Regions from separate parts of the Homo sapiens genome. Here all the other regions are linked to region 3. Evidence: promoter capture Hi-C in 16 types of primary human blood cells and fetal thymus (Javierre and others, 2016). All regions are on one chromosome and are shown on one strand. Each heading gives the region's core, a stretch centred on a gene start or on the middle of the fragment in contact. The rest is flanking DNA. Distances are from core to core; before and after follow the strand shown.

Region 1 (3,111 bases), core at 533-3,032, 270 kb before region 3:
CTTGAACTCCTGACCTTAAGTGATGTGCCCACCTTGGCCTCCCAAAGTGCTGGGATTACAGGCATGAGCCACTGCGCCCAGCATGAATGCTAGTTTTAAAATCTTTTTTTAACTTCAATCTGAGTAAGATGAGGCATGTATTGCATTGCATAGATGCTGACTGATTTCATGTTTTCTGTGCTGCCCTCCTGTCATACCTGCCATAAATGCCAGGGGTTAGCCTTCCTGGAATGTCCTTGCTACATTACATGAACTTGCTGCCCCACTGCCTCTCACAATTTATAAATTACAGTGGAGAAAATGGTGCTGACCCACACTCAGCCCAAGGTCAAGCCAGTAGCTCTGCTCAAGGGTTTATAAATGTGTTTTGACACACAGCATCTCTCACCCTCACTGCAGGGTCAGTGGAGAGAGAGAGTGGGCTCCCCCTCATCTGGGCACAGTGGGGAGAGTGGGGCCTCCATGGGTGCTCTGGATAGGGAAGCAGAGTTCTGGATGAGGATGCACCATCAGTGACAGCTTTGGAACTGCAGACACCAAGGCAGAGGCTGCCCCCGGCATGCACGGAGGAGCGGTCTGTGAGGCAGCCCAAGAATGAATCTAGGCAGAGGGTGTCTGACATGAGGGCTGAGGTGGCGGGTGCAGCTGAAAGCAGCTCGGCCCAGCAAACACCTTCTGGAAAGCGTTCTTGGACCTTAAAAAAACTGCTCTGCTCTCCTTATCCCCACATGTTCCCTTCATCATGGCTAAATCAAGGTGTGTGATTCAAATGCTCTCCAAGGCCACTTGAGGCCTCTGCCCCTCGGGTTTGCAGCCTGTGTTTCTGTCCTGAAGCCCCACAGGACACCGGACCCCCTTTTGATTCTTGGCTCTCTTGATCATCTGTAATCGGCTGAACACTTTGAAGCCTTCGCTGATACTGGAAGCCCTGGGGTGCAGGGCAGTGGATATAGGGAGTCCTAGGGTTATAGCATGCACATCCCCAAAGGTGTCACCCAGCTGGATGTGATTACAGCTCTGGAACTGCCTAAGCATGCATCCACTGGTGCTGCATGCGGCCCCTGGGGCACACATTTTCAGTCCCTTTCTTTACCTACAGGAGAAAAAAAGATGCCTGGGGGACGGACTAGGCCTCCCTCAAGACGGCCCGGTGCACTGGTGGCTGAATCACCCAGAGTCCCTCCCCGTGTGCCCGTCCTTCCCTCTGCTGAATCTGTGAATAACCCGGGGGCAGAGCCTGCCACTTTCCTTCCCAATGACAGACTTGGAGCTGGGGACATGTCAGGTCCTCAAGGAATAAATACTTCCTGAATCTCTGAATTGAGTCTGATGGAGGAGTCCTCACTGACTAGAAGATGAGGCTAAGAACCTAAAAGGGACTGGGGAGAATGGACTGCGGGCAGCAGGAAAGACAGGAGGCCTCCCTTCACTGAGAAGAAACCGAGACACACAGAGGTGAGGAGGCTCTTAGGGCCGTGTGGCGGGTGGGCGCCCTGCAGCCCTGCGTGCTGACCTGCTGGCGACGTCCTCCTCGGCGCCCGTGTCCAGCACGCTGCTCAGGTTGTGCTCGGCCTGAGTCTCCTCCGGTACCTCCTGCAGTGCCTCAGCCTGCCTCAGGGACAGGCGGTAGTTCTCCAGCTCGATCCGCTCTGGGGTGCCCCTCAGTCGCTTGGCGATGCTGGGCTCCTCCAGGCCGTTCACGCCTGAACCTGCGGGACAAGCACAGAAGCACTGCACTGAGGTCCAACCACAGACGGGGCGTGGGGGTGGGGGCTGACACCCAGGCTGCAGGCCCTCCTGCCAGAATGTGGGGCAGGACAAAGGTCAGAGCATTTGCAGAGTTGCCAGAGGCCAGAGAAGGACCCTGGCATGTGAGAGGGAATTTCACTCTGCAGGAGAAAGGAAGGTGGCCCTGTCTGCCCTCCAGGTCAGAGCGTTCTCTCTCCTTCATCACCCTGAACCCGGCCCCCAGAGGGGAGACGCAGTCTCCCCACAAGAGTGACTGGTGGTGAGGGGTGTGGGCCAGACCGCAGGCAGCCAGGAGCCAGGTGCCCCTGAAGCAGCCTTGCCTGAGAAGGGCATCCCCGGTGCAGTCTGCCCCAGGGATCCAGGCCCCCACCAGGTGCCTCCCCCAATGCCTGCCCCGGGATCCAAGTCCCCACCAGGCACGTGCCCCACCACTGAGGGGGCCTGGCCAGCTGCCTGAAGAACGTCTCATGCTGCGGATCTGTCTCCTCACAGTTAGATAAGGCACTTTCGGTTTCATAAGGCCACGTGGGCGATGCTGCCCCTACCGCAGCACCGCTGCTCAGAGGAAGGACACCAGGCCCGACCGCTCACAGAGGTGGCACCCAGGCCTCTCTGCGATGCACAGGCACACTTCCCCATCAGTCCTCCGTGGGCTTCTGAAGCCACGGGGTGCCCTGCCTGCGTCCTTTCACCCTGTGGTTTCAGCATCGTCGGCGATCTTGGCCGGAGTCCTTTGTGTGCACAGGGCGTCACACCAGGTGATTTTAAAATCCCATCACTCTGGCTGGGTGCGGTGGCTCACGCCTGTAATCCCAGCACTTGGGGAGGCCGATGCAGGTGGATCACGAGGTCAGCAGATCAAGGCCATCCTGGCTAACACAGTGAGACCCCATCTCTACTAAAAATACAAAAAATTAACCAGGCACGGTGGCGGGCGCCTGTAGTCCCAGCTACTCGGGAGGCTGAAGCAGGAGAATGGTGTGAACCTGGGAGGCGGAGCTTGCAGTGAACCGAGATTGCGCCACTGCACTCCAGCCTGGGTGACAAAGCGAGACTTCATCTCAAAAAAAAAAAAAAAAAAAAAAATCCCATCACTCCTCCTCCACTACCATTCTTTGGTAAAGAAGCACTTTTCCCATTTTTAACTTTATACTTTCAAGTACTGCTATGGACTCGGATTTTTGAAAATGTGTTTTACAACTGTGCTTTGGTCTCCTTTAACATGGAACAGTTCTGCTGCCTCCCTTATCATCACCACTATTCTCTGTTGACGTCCCTTGTCCTCCTGATCCTGGTCAGAGGAGGCTGTCATGAGTCCTCTGGTGTGTCCCCTGTAATGTGAGTAGCACCGGGTCCAGGTGG
Region 2 (3,068 bases), core at 559-3,058, 310 kb before region 3:
GGCAGGGCCTGAGGCTGTGCCTTCCTAACAGGCTCCTAGGTGATGTTGCTGCTGGTCCAGGGACCACACTTTGAGAACCACGGCCTGGAGCTTTTCCTGTCTTCACTGAAAAGAAGTACAAAGTGAGCCCCAGGACAGAGCAAGGAGGGAGGGACGTTGTTATGGGCACCCGTCAACCTGGCTTTGAGTTTGGTGACTCCGGGCAGAAATCACTACAGAGAAGCCTTTCCCTCGCACTCAGCTCTTCTGGGAGAAACGAGACCACGACCCAGTGAAAATGGTCGGGCTGAGATCTTGGCATGTTTGCTTCTTTGCGTAAGTGTGGCAGGCAGTGAGCTCCCTAGCAGATATGATTCCTACAAGCAGTGAGGGATGAGATTCAGGGCAAAAGCTGTGTTGGAGTGTGTGTATTTAGGGGACCAGGACGCAGATGCAAGGCTGGTGGAGTCGGGTGGGCAAAGTTTTATTATAAAAAATTAAAAACGACCCCAGGCAGCAAAAGCAAGCTCAGATCTTCCTCTGGAGCACATGTGGGCAGCGGGGAGATCAGCACGCTGCTCTGTTTTGAGCTGGAAAAGGGTCTGTGCTTTTGCCATTTGGTTATTGGGTTGATTTCTCCTTGTTTTTGTGAGCAGGGACTGGGAAGCGTGGGTGGAGAAAGGGCGTCAGCGGGGTTAGTGTCAGCACAGGCGCTGCCATACATACCACCCAGATGCAAGTCGATGAGGTCACTGTAATAAGACTCTCCCCAATAGTCTACAACAAGGAATCGGTGAAGAGAGAGTTATTCCATCAGGTAGTCCTCCTGTCCCCCCATACCCAATCAATGATATGATATGGAGCAATCAATGATATGGAGCGCAAGAAACACAGACACAGCGAGGCGGCAGAGGAACGGCTGGAAGGCATGCGTGCCTAAGTGCATCACATACTGCATGTCCACACATGCCGTATCTGCATACTGCGTGGCTGCGGGAGGAGGGCGGTAACTAAAACTCACTGTGGGGAGTCAATGGTCACTATCAACATGATCCCACGTACACCAGGGATCAGCCAGGACAGAGGCTTTGGCTTTGCTGGGAACTCCTGCCCCTGGGACTGAACCTTCTCTAACTAAGAGTTAATAGAGCGGGGCTGCCTGCGTGTCAGTTGCTGATACTGGAAGCCCCAGGCTGAGGGCCTGGAGGCAGGAGGCAAACGTCCTACAGAAGCTCTGAAATCCTTAGGTTTCGTGCAGTCAGTGCTCTCCCAGGAATTCCCACGACCCCACTGCTGACTCTATCAAATGCCTTGCAGACCCACTTTTGCCGAATGGGTTTGAGAGAAAGGGGATCCTGTTTCGAGGCTTAGGCCTCCAAATTCAGTCGGCCTTCTTAACAACAGGAAACGAGCAGAGACTCATGCAGAGTTCTTCCCCCAGGCACTCGGCCGAAGGCTCCTGGAGGTGTGCTGGCCTGGGGCACTCCTAGCCTGGTAGTTCCACAGCTGTCTGGCCAAGAGCGCTATGTAATTTCCACGCCTGAGATGCAGACTGGGCACTGCCGAGAGGCTGGGCTTGAGCAGGCGGTCCTCATCTCCCCAGAATCATAAAGACACACAGAGCACAGCACTCGGCCGCCATGGTGTTGCCCTCTCTCCAAACCCCGCATTCTGAATGCAGATCCTCACAGCCTCCGGTCCCACCTGAGGGCCTCCCCTTGAGAGTGACACAGCAGACACAGTGGTAGAATGCGGTCCTGCCCCAGTTTTTCAATGCATGCTCAAGGCTGAGTCAGTGTTTTTGTAACAAAAAGGCTTCCCAGGTGCCCCAGGACTGGAAATTACCTAAGTTGTGGCCTGGCCCTAGGATCAAAGGTGCTGAAGCTAATCCTTGCAGCCTGGCCATACGTCGTCATACCTTAGACAAACGGAGAACGGGATGGCAGGTCCATGCTAGAGCGCTTCTCTGGAAAGGCAGCTTGGCTAACAAAGTCTGACGCCCTCAGACGGTGATGGAAGCTGGAGACCCCCAAGTGAGATGATGGCAGGTTCCAGCCAGTTTACTACAGTCCCCAGGGAAGGGCAGACTGCCATGATGAGAAGACTCCAGATTATTATCATGCCCAGCTGCCACTGCCTTCTTCAGGGCTCAGCCAGGTGCCACAAGACTAAGAAGAGGAACGGGACGCAGAAGCAGGAGAGAAAGCAGCAGCAGCACGCACACCTGGGCTTCAGAGACGGCATCGGCCAAGGAGGGGCAGGGCCACGGGGAACTGTGATGGGAGACCAGCTTGGAAGGGATGTATTCACGTAAGAGAAGGAACATATTTGGAAATTCTTATATTCTTATGGTAGGAACCATAATTCCTGAAAATTCCAGAGAGTTTCTCAAATGCATCACAACGAAATATCCCAACAGAGCTACTAAGGCCCATCTTGAAAAACAGAACAGAAACATCTTTGGATAGAGATATCTGCTGAAGACTCATCTAAAGGAAGGAGTTTGCACTACGACAGTGGTTTTCAAGCCTCTGTGGAACCCTAAGGTTCTTCCAAAGGCATTCCAAGGGGTCTCCCAAATACCTGATGTACAAATACTTGTAGCTCTTTCAAGAGCCCTTATTAAAATAAGACACACCACCTTCAAATGTTTTTGTTTTTGAGACAGAGTTTCGCTCTTGTTGCCCAGGTTGGACTGCAATGGCGTGATCTCGGCTCACCGCAACCTCCACCTCCCAGGTTCAAGCGATTCTCCTGCCTCAGCCTCCCGAGTAGCTGGGATTACAGGCATGTACCACCATGCCAGGCTAATTTTTTGTATTTTTAGTAGAGACAGGGTTTCTCCATGTTGGTCAGGCTGGTCTCAAACTCCCGGCCTCAGGTGATCCGCCCACCTCGGCCTCCCAAAGTGTTGGGATTACAGGCGTGAGCCACCGCGCCCGGCCCAAATGTTTTATATGCCAACTTTTCACCCACTGGAGACCATCAACCCAATAATTTGTGCTGCCAGGTGAGCTTGATTTTGTGGAGCCCTCAGGATCAAGTTTCCGCCTCTCTCTGTGTGTAAGTGGCTGAACTCCCTGTAAATG
Region 3 (3,031 bases), core at 149-2,648:
TGACCATTTATCATGTGCTTGGCACAATTAGCTTAATCCTGAGTCTTAATTGTCAGGATCTTACATTATAAGATAGACAAAAATTCAACGCATGCTTTACTAAGTACCGTTTGTATCAGTGGGTAAAGCACTGTGTTTGGTACTCTCTCAAATGCAAAGATGATTACGACACATGTACTATCGTTTATGAATGGGTGGCCAACAGAACAGATTGCCGCATAGGTAAGCAGAAATCTGCTCTCATTCTCTATTGGCCACAAGCAGGCATGTCTTAGGAGCAGAAGGGTAGGAAGATCTCTAACTGTGCTTGGAAACTTGGGGAGTTACCACGTCTGGCTAAAGTGGTATTGTCTTAAGGAAAACCTATGAATTTGCCTGCGTTGGCTTGGTGCTGAGGAAAGTGGAAGAGAGAGGCTGGGGTACACCTTTCAACATGAATGGAACTGACCACTGGAGGGAAAGAACAAGAAACAGCAGTGAGAACAAGGAACAAAGACCATCCAGCCCCTCACCCACCTGGGGGGAAGTGAGGGGAGATGGGCAGGGTGACAACGTGGCCAACATCTAAAGTGTGAAGAGGGGCTTTTACCAAGTGCCCACCCCTTCCCGAGCAGGGGGCAACCAACAGCATCTGGCGGGTCTTACTACTGGGCAGAGGCAGGGGAACCCTGGTATGAGTTCTGGATTACATAGGAGATGTGACTTGGACACGTTTGGGGCTTAAAAGTAGGAAGGGATCAAGGGGGGAGATTTGAAAATCCCGGTGGAGGTGCGAGGTATCCGGGGAGAGGGTAAAAACGGGAACAGTCTTCAGCACCTGCCTGTACCAGGAGCTCTGTGTATGCCATCTCATTTCCGTCTCCAGCAACCAGGCGGGCCTTGGCGGCAGGAGGCACAGGCTTTGGGAGCAGAGGCCCTGCAGCTTGCCAAGCACACACGGCCCTAGGGCGCCCAGCTGAGACGGCACCTTGGCACCCGGGCCCGCTGCAGCCCGCTCCGGTCAGCTGCACCCCAGTCAGGAGCCTTTCCAGCGGGTCGGAGGAGAACGGAAGTTTGGGGAGACCCGCGCGATTCGCCTGGCTGCATTTTACATTTCTTTCTCCGGCAGCTGGGGTCACGAAGGCTGCTCTCGCCGGCGGTGTTGGAACGTGGACACGTGCGCTTTGGTAATAGGGCAGCCTCCCCCGCGGGCGCAGTCCCCGCTGCGAGCGCCCCCGGCTGCTGAGGCGGGACCGAGGACCCGGAGATTTGAGCCGCGGGTGGGCGGGGAGGGGCCTTTGTGACCTGCCCGCCCCTCCCCGGCACTGTGATGCCGGGGGGCAGCTGCGGGCCCGGCGCGCCTGTCCCCGGCGTCCCCCCCTCCCGGTGTGTCACAACGGCGGAGGCGGCTGTATCTGGAGCAGTCGGGGCGGGCAGGCCCAGCTGAGAGGTGCGCGGGCGAGGACAGCGGCAGCGATGGTGAGGCTTCCCGGGGCCAGGCGGGCTGCGGGCGCGCGGCAGGCGTAGGACCGAGAGCCGAGTCTACGCGGAGGCGCACGGACCCGTCTTCCTGGAGCCGCAGGGCTCAAGGCCTTCTGGGGGTGGCAGTTCAGGGTCGAGGAGTCCGCACCCTCGGGCGGGAACACCCGGTGCCCTTTATCGTATGGGGGAAATAGAGACCAGGGGCCAGTTGTTCCTTAAAGGGACCTAAGGGAGCTTTGCGTGCAGACGAGGGGGAGGGAGGCCCTGGGGAGCCCGACGGAGAAGGGGGCGAGATTCTGGGGTCCCCAGATGGGCAGCCTGTGGACAGAGTGGAGAGAAGGGCGAGTCCGGGGATTCTGGATGGGTGGTCTGGGCCGGGGCGACTGGGGGGCCAGATGCAGTCACGTCTCCGAACCCAGCCTAATGTGACAGGGCCCGGAATGTGACAGAGGACCTAGGGCGCCACGGTCCCCCCACGCGTGGAGGTCTTTCTCGCAAGCCTGGCCAGCGGCTTGGGTTTGCTGCACGCACAGCCCCAGCGCGGCGGGGTCCTCCGGGCGCACTCAGCAGCTCCCAAGTCTTTCCAGCGGTCAGAGTCGAAGGACTTTGGGAGTAAGAAGTCTCTGCTTCCAAAGGCCAGGGGACCTTCGACCTGTTTCCTACCCTGGCTTAGGGGGATCGCGGCTGCTCCCTTCCCTGCCCCCGCCCCTGGATCTTACTGAGGGGCGGCTGCAAACACTCAGTTCCTCTTTCTAGGGTCCCCCTCTCCGCCCCCAGTGCCCCTGGTGGTTAACATTTGCCCCCAGTCCACTTTCCCAAAGCCCAGAATCCCAGGAATCCCTCCTGGACCCCTGATCTTTCAGCAGTAGGGAGATGGGCTGGAAAGATTGGGGGCAGAGTGAGGGCAGAATAAGCCTATGTCATGGCCAAGGTCGGGTTCCCTGGGCAGGCTTGCTCCAGGTGTCAGTGATCCAGAAAGCAGGCGAGAACCCCCTCCGCCCCGCCCTGTTACGTTTGGCCCGTGCCCAGGGCCTCCTGGCTCCCCCGGAGCTCTAGCCTTCCAGCTTCAGTTTTGTCAGCACCCTCCCTCCTCCTAGCGGGCTCCCAGACACCCCTGGGAACTGAAAGAACTTGGGAATATTAGGGAGGGTGGCCACAGGAACCTATTTCTGCCTGAGGACCCTGGTATGAGGCCACACAAAGGGCCCGGAGCTGCCAGTTCAGAATTTTGACTCCTGGCTCTGCAGCTAGCTGTGTGACTTCAGGAAGGTCACTTAACCTCTCTGGATGTGTTTGTTTTACCTGCGAAATGAAGAGGGTTATAATTCAAATTTCCAAGACTCCACTTAGATTTCATTATTTTTAAACTTTTTATGGTAGGGAATTTCAAACATATGCAAACGGAGAGCAAATGGTATAATTAGCGATTATATACATCATCTAAGTTCAATAATTACCAACTTCTGACCTGTCTCACTTCATTTATTCCCTCCCTCCATAATTTTGAAGCAAATGCTAGGCTGCATACTCTAGAATTGATATTTAATATTTATAATATCTAGCAGGTAGC
Region 4 (2,917 bases), core at 148-2,647, 370 kb before region 3:
CGTGATTGCGGCTCACTGCAACCTCTGCCACCAGGGTTCAAGCGATTCTCCTGCCTTAGCCTCCTGAGTAGCTGGGATTACAGGCGCCCGCCACCACACCCAGCTAATTTTTTTTGTATTTTTAGTAGAAACGGGGTTTCACCATCTTGGCCAGGCTGGTCTTGAACTCCTGACTTCATGATCCGCCTGCCTTGGCCTCCCAAAGTGCTGGGATTACAGGCGTGAGCCACCGCGCCTGGCCCTCAGCTAATTATTTTTATAAATTTTTTAGAGACAGGGTCTCGCCATGTTGCTCAGTTTTGTCTCAAACTCCTGGCCTCAAGCAATCCCACTGCTTCTGCTTCCCAAATCGCTGGGATTACAGGCTTGAGCCACCATGCCCAGCCTTTAGACTGTGACTTGTAATACCTGGTTATGGGACAGATGTGCTCTGGAAAAGATTTCAGACAGTTCCCCCCCTTTTTTGACTACTCGTTTTGGTTCACATTACACCTTTTTTTTGAGATGGAGTCTTGCTCTGTCGCCCAGGCTAAAGTGCAGTGGTGCGATCTCAGTTCACTGCAACCTCTGCCTCCAGGGTTCAAGCAGTTCTCCTGCCTCAGCCTCCTGAGTAGCTGGGACTACAGGTGTGCGCCACCATGCCCGGCTAATTTTTGTATTTTAGTAGAGACGGGCTTTCACCCTGTTGGCCAGGGTGGTCTGGAACTCCTGACCTCAGGTGATCCACCTGCCTTGGCCTCCCAGAGCAGTGGGATCACAGGCATGAGCCACCGCACTGGCCACATTACACTTATTTTTTATGGCAAGGTGAGAGGTCTGAAAAGCTCATTGTGAGCCCTCCAGCCCCTTCCTTCCACTCTGTACCTGCTTGTGCCTTGAGGACCCCACCAGGAGTGTGACGTGAGCCTTTGCCACCCCTCTGAATGGAGCATGTCTCCAATAGTAAGCTGCTAAAGCTCCAAAGGACTCTGGGTGCTCTTCGTCACCTTTACACACAGCTTTCTAGCTCACAACAGCAAAACCAAACCCGAGCAGGACAGCCTGTAACCCTTGTGCTGGCATCAGAGGCAGGGGCCCCGCTGGGCTTCTCAACCTTCCAGAGAAAAGGGCATGGGCGGCAGGCAGGGAAGGAGCTGACCTCAAGGGTTCTTACATTTCTGGCTAAGCTCCTCACGTAGGTGCGTAGGTTCTGGTTAATAAAATTCACTGTTGTGTGAAAGACATCACGGAGCAAGGACGGCGTGTGACTGGCCACCTTCTTGGCCAGCAGCAGGGCCAGCACCAGCATGGTCTTCTCCTTCTCCATGTCTCTAGGGTAGGCCTGCAGCAGCTGCTCCAGGGCAGTGGCCAGGTCCCTGTTCCGGTCCTGCACAGAGGGGCACACAGAACCTGGTTTACTAATACTCTTCCCTCTCAAAGGAAAGACAGTCCCCAGTATGAAGAAGCACTTCAAAGTACTTATTAAGTATCCAGGGCTGCTGGGCGGAAAGAATGAGAAACAGTTGAGTTCTGAGAGGCAATGGAAAGGGAAGACTGCAATCACTCCCTGCAGGGGGCTCGGTAAGCAAACGCATGTGTGGTGAGCCCATGTGCCCACTGTTAGACGGTGATGGGATACAAGAAGCCTGGGTCATCCCTGCGCCCAAGGCACTTCGAGTCCAGAACTAGTGACCACCTGCGACGCCTTAGGCCCATTTTATTGGTGCAGACCTAGCTGAATGGACAGGAGGAAGGGGGTTCCTGGGGGACACTAGACAGACTACAAGGCTGGCAAGGACCGTCAGGCGGTCGGCGCACATGCAGAGTTACATGGGAGTGCGCCAGCCACTCCTGCGTTCTAGGCAGCTGCTGGGACATCACAGGCTGGCCCCACTGAACAGAAGCATGATTGGATTTCTAGGAGGTGAGGACGCCTGCATTTTCAGCTGGTAGAGTCGAAAAAGTGGAACTTTCTCTCCTCTCAGCTCCTACCGCTACAGGCCTGCATTTGGCAGTTGGGAGGATGTAGTTCTTTCCGCTAAGTGTTCTGGGGACACAGTGCCCCGGACCAATCTTGTATCCCCAACAGTGCCAAGCAGATGGTAGAGCTCAGAAAGTTGTGTGGATTCCAACCAAGGAGCTCAGCAGAGCAGCAGGCACCACTCCCAGGGCTTACGGTTCTCACTGGCACCATTATTAAACTCCCTACAACCAAAGGAAGCGTCTGTTTCTTCTGTTGGCCAAACATGCTTCGTTCATCTTTTAGAGGCTTTTACCCCTAAACTCTTTACTCTGATTTAAGGTTCAGGTTTCCTCGATGTCAACCAGCTGAAATCTTCTGCAAGGCAATGAACCATACCCTACGTCCAGTTACTTCGTCAGAGTTCTGGACCTGACAGTCACGAGTTGAGTGGCCTCACGGGACAGTGGGCTGCCTGGTGAGAGGCAGGGGACAGGCCCCCTTGGCTCACTTGCCCGCCCACGCGGTCCTCAGGCCCTCACTCACCTCCTCCGACCGGCTGGTGTTCCTGAGCTGCAGGGCCAGGCCGTTCACCAGGCCCGGAGGGATGCTACGGTCCATGCTGTCCCCGACCTGGGCGAGGTGCCTGGCAATATTCCGGATGATGTCTTCTTGACTTTCAGAATCTGTGTTCAGGCAGGGGCGGCAGAGACAGAGCAGACTCAGAAAATGTCCCTGATACCCTCTCCCACACCACCCTGCCCCGGGAAAGGACAGGTCCGCGATGGGACAAGGCCAGCCCCCACTGGGCACGTGCTCCACTCCACCAGGGCCACAGCGGGCGGGCTGAGTACCAGCGCTGAGCTGGGTTCTGGGCAGTGCCGGAGCTCAGGGCCTCGGCTGAGGCCCAGGCTCCCGCACACAGGCACCACGTCCCCACAGGCAGGGCCGGTGAAGCTGGGGCATCACGACCACGCC

The links. Contacts are between HindIII fragments. The CHiCAGO score rates a contact against its expected background, and 5 or more counts as called.
Region 1: a contact is called between a fragment that was not itself captured here and the fragment with the promoter of TUBA8 in region 3, in 2 of 17 cell types (naive B cells and total B cells). The highest score is 7.2, in naive B cells.
Region 2: a fragment that was not itself captured here is called in contact with the fragment with the promoter of TUBA8 in region 3 in 1 of 17 cell types (naive CD8 T cells); the score reaches 5.3 in naive CD8 T cells.
Region 4: a contact is called between a fragment that was not itself captured here and the fragment with the promoter of TUBA8 in region 3, in 1 of 17 cell types (erythroblasts). The highest score is 5.1, in erythroblasts.

Annotation. Positions count from the first base shown.
Region 1 is chr22:17,840,309-17,843,419 of GRCh38, forward strand. MICAL3 (microtubule associated monooxygenase, calponin and LIM domain containing 3) reads right to left here. Exons shown (of 32, transcript NM_015241.3): 20 at 1,514-1,709. Among named protein-coding and RNA genes, the nearest start is that of LINC00528, 65 kb to the left of the region's middle. The HindIII fragment of the contact is 7,527 bases long and covers 1-3,111 here.
Region 2 is chr22:17,803,106-17,806,173 of GRCh38, forward strand. All of the region lies in intron 29 of MICAL3 (microtubule associated monooxygenase, calponin and LIM domain containing 3), which reads right to left. Among named protein-coding and RNA genes, the nearest start is that of LINC00528, 27 kb to the left of the region's middle. RefSeq lists enhancers at 673-1,872, 867-1,707, 1,708-2,546. The HindIII fragment of the contact is 3,985 bases long and covers 1-3,068 here.
Region 3 is chr22:18,109,411-18,112,441 of GRCh38, forward strand. TUBA8 (tubulin alpha 8) reads left to right here and starts at 1,399. Exons shown (of 5, transcript NM_018943.3): 1 at 1,399-1,458. The coding sequence starts at 1,456. RefSeq lists an enhancer at 896-1,095 and a silencer at 1,176-1,565. The HindIII fragment of the contact is 5,564 bases long and covers 1-3,031 here.
Region 4 is chr22:17,736,864-17,739,780 of GRCh38, forward strand. BID (BH3 interacting domain death agonist) reads right to left here. Exons shown (of 6, transcript NM_001196.4): 4 at 2,486-2,625; 5 at 1,154-1,366. Among named protein-coding and RNA genes, the nearest start is that of MIR3198-1, 26 kb to the right of the region's middle. The HindIII fragment of the contact is 7,459 bases long and covers 1-2,917 here.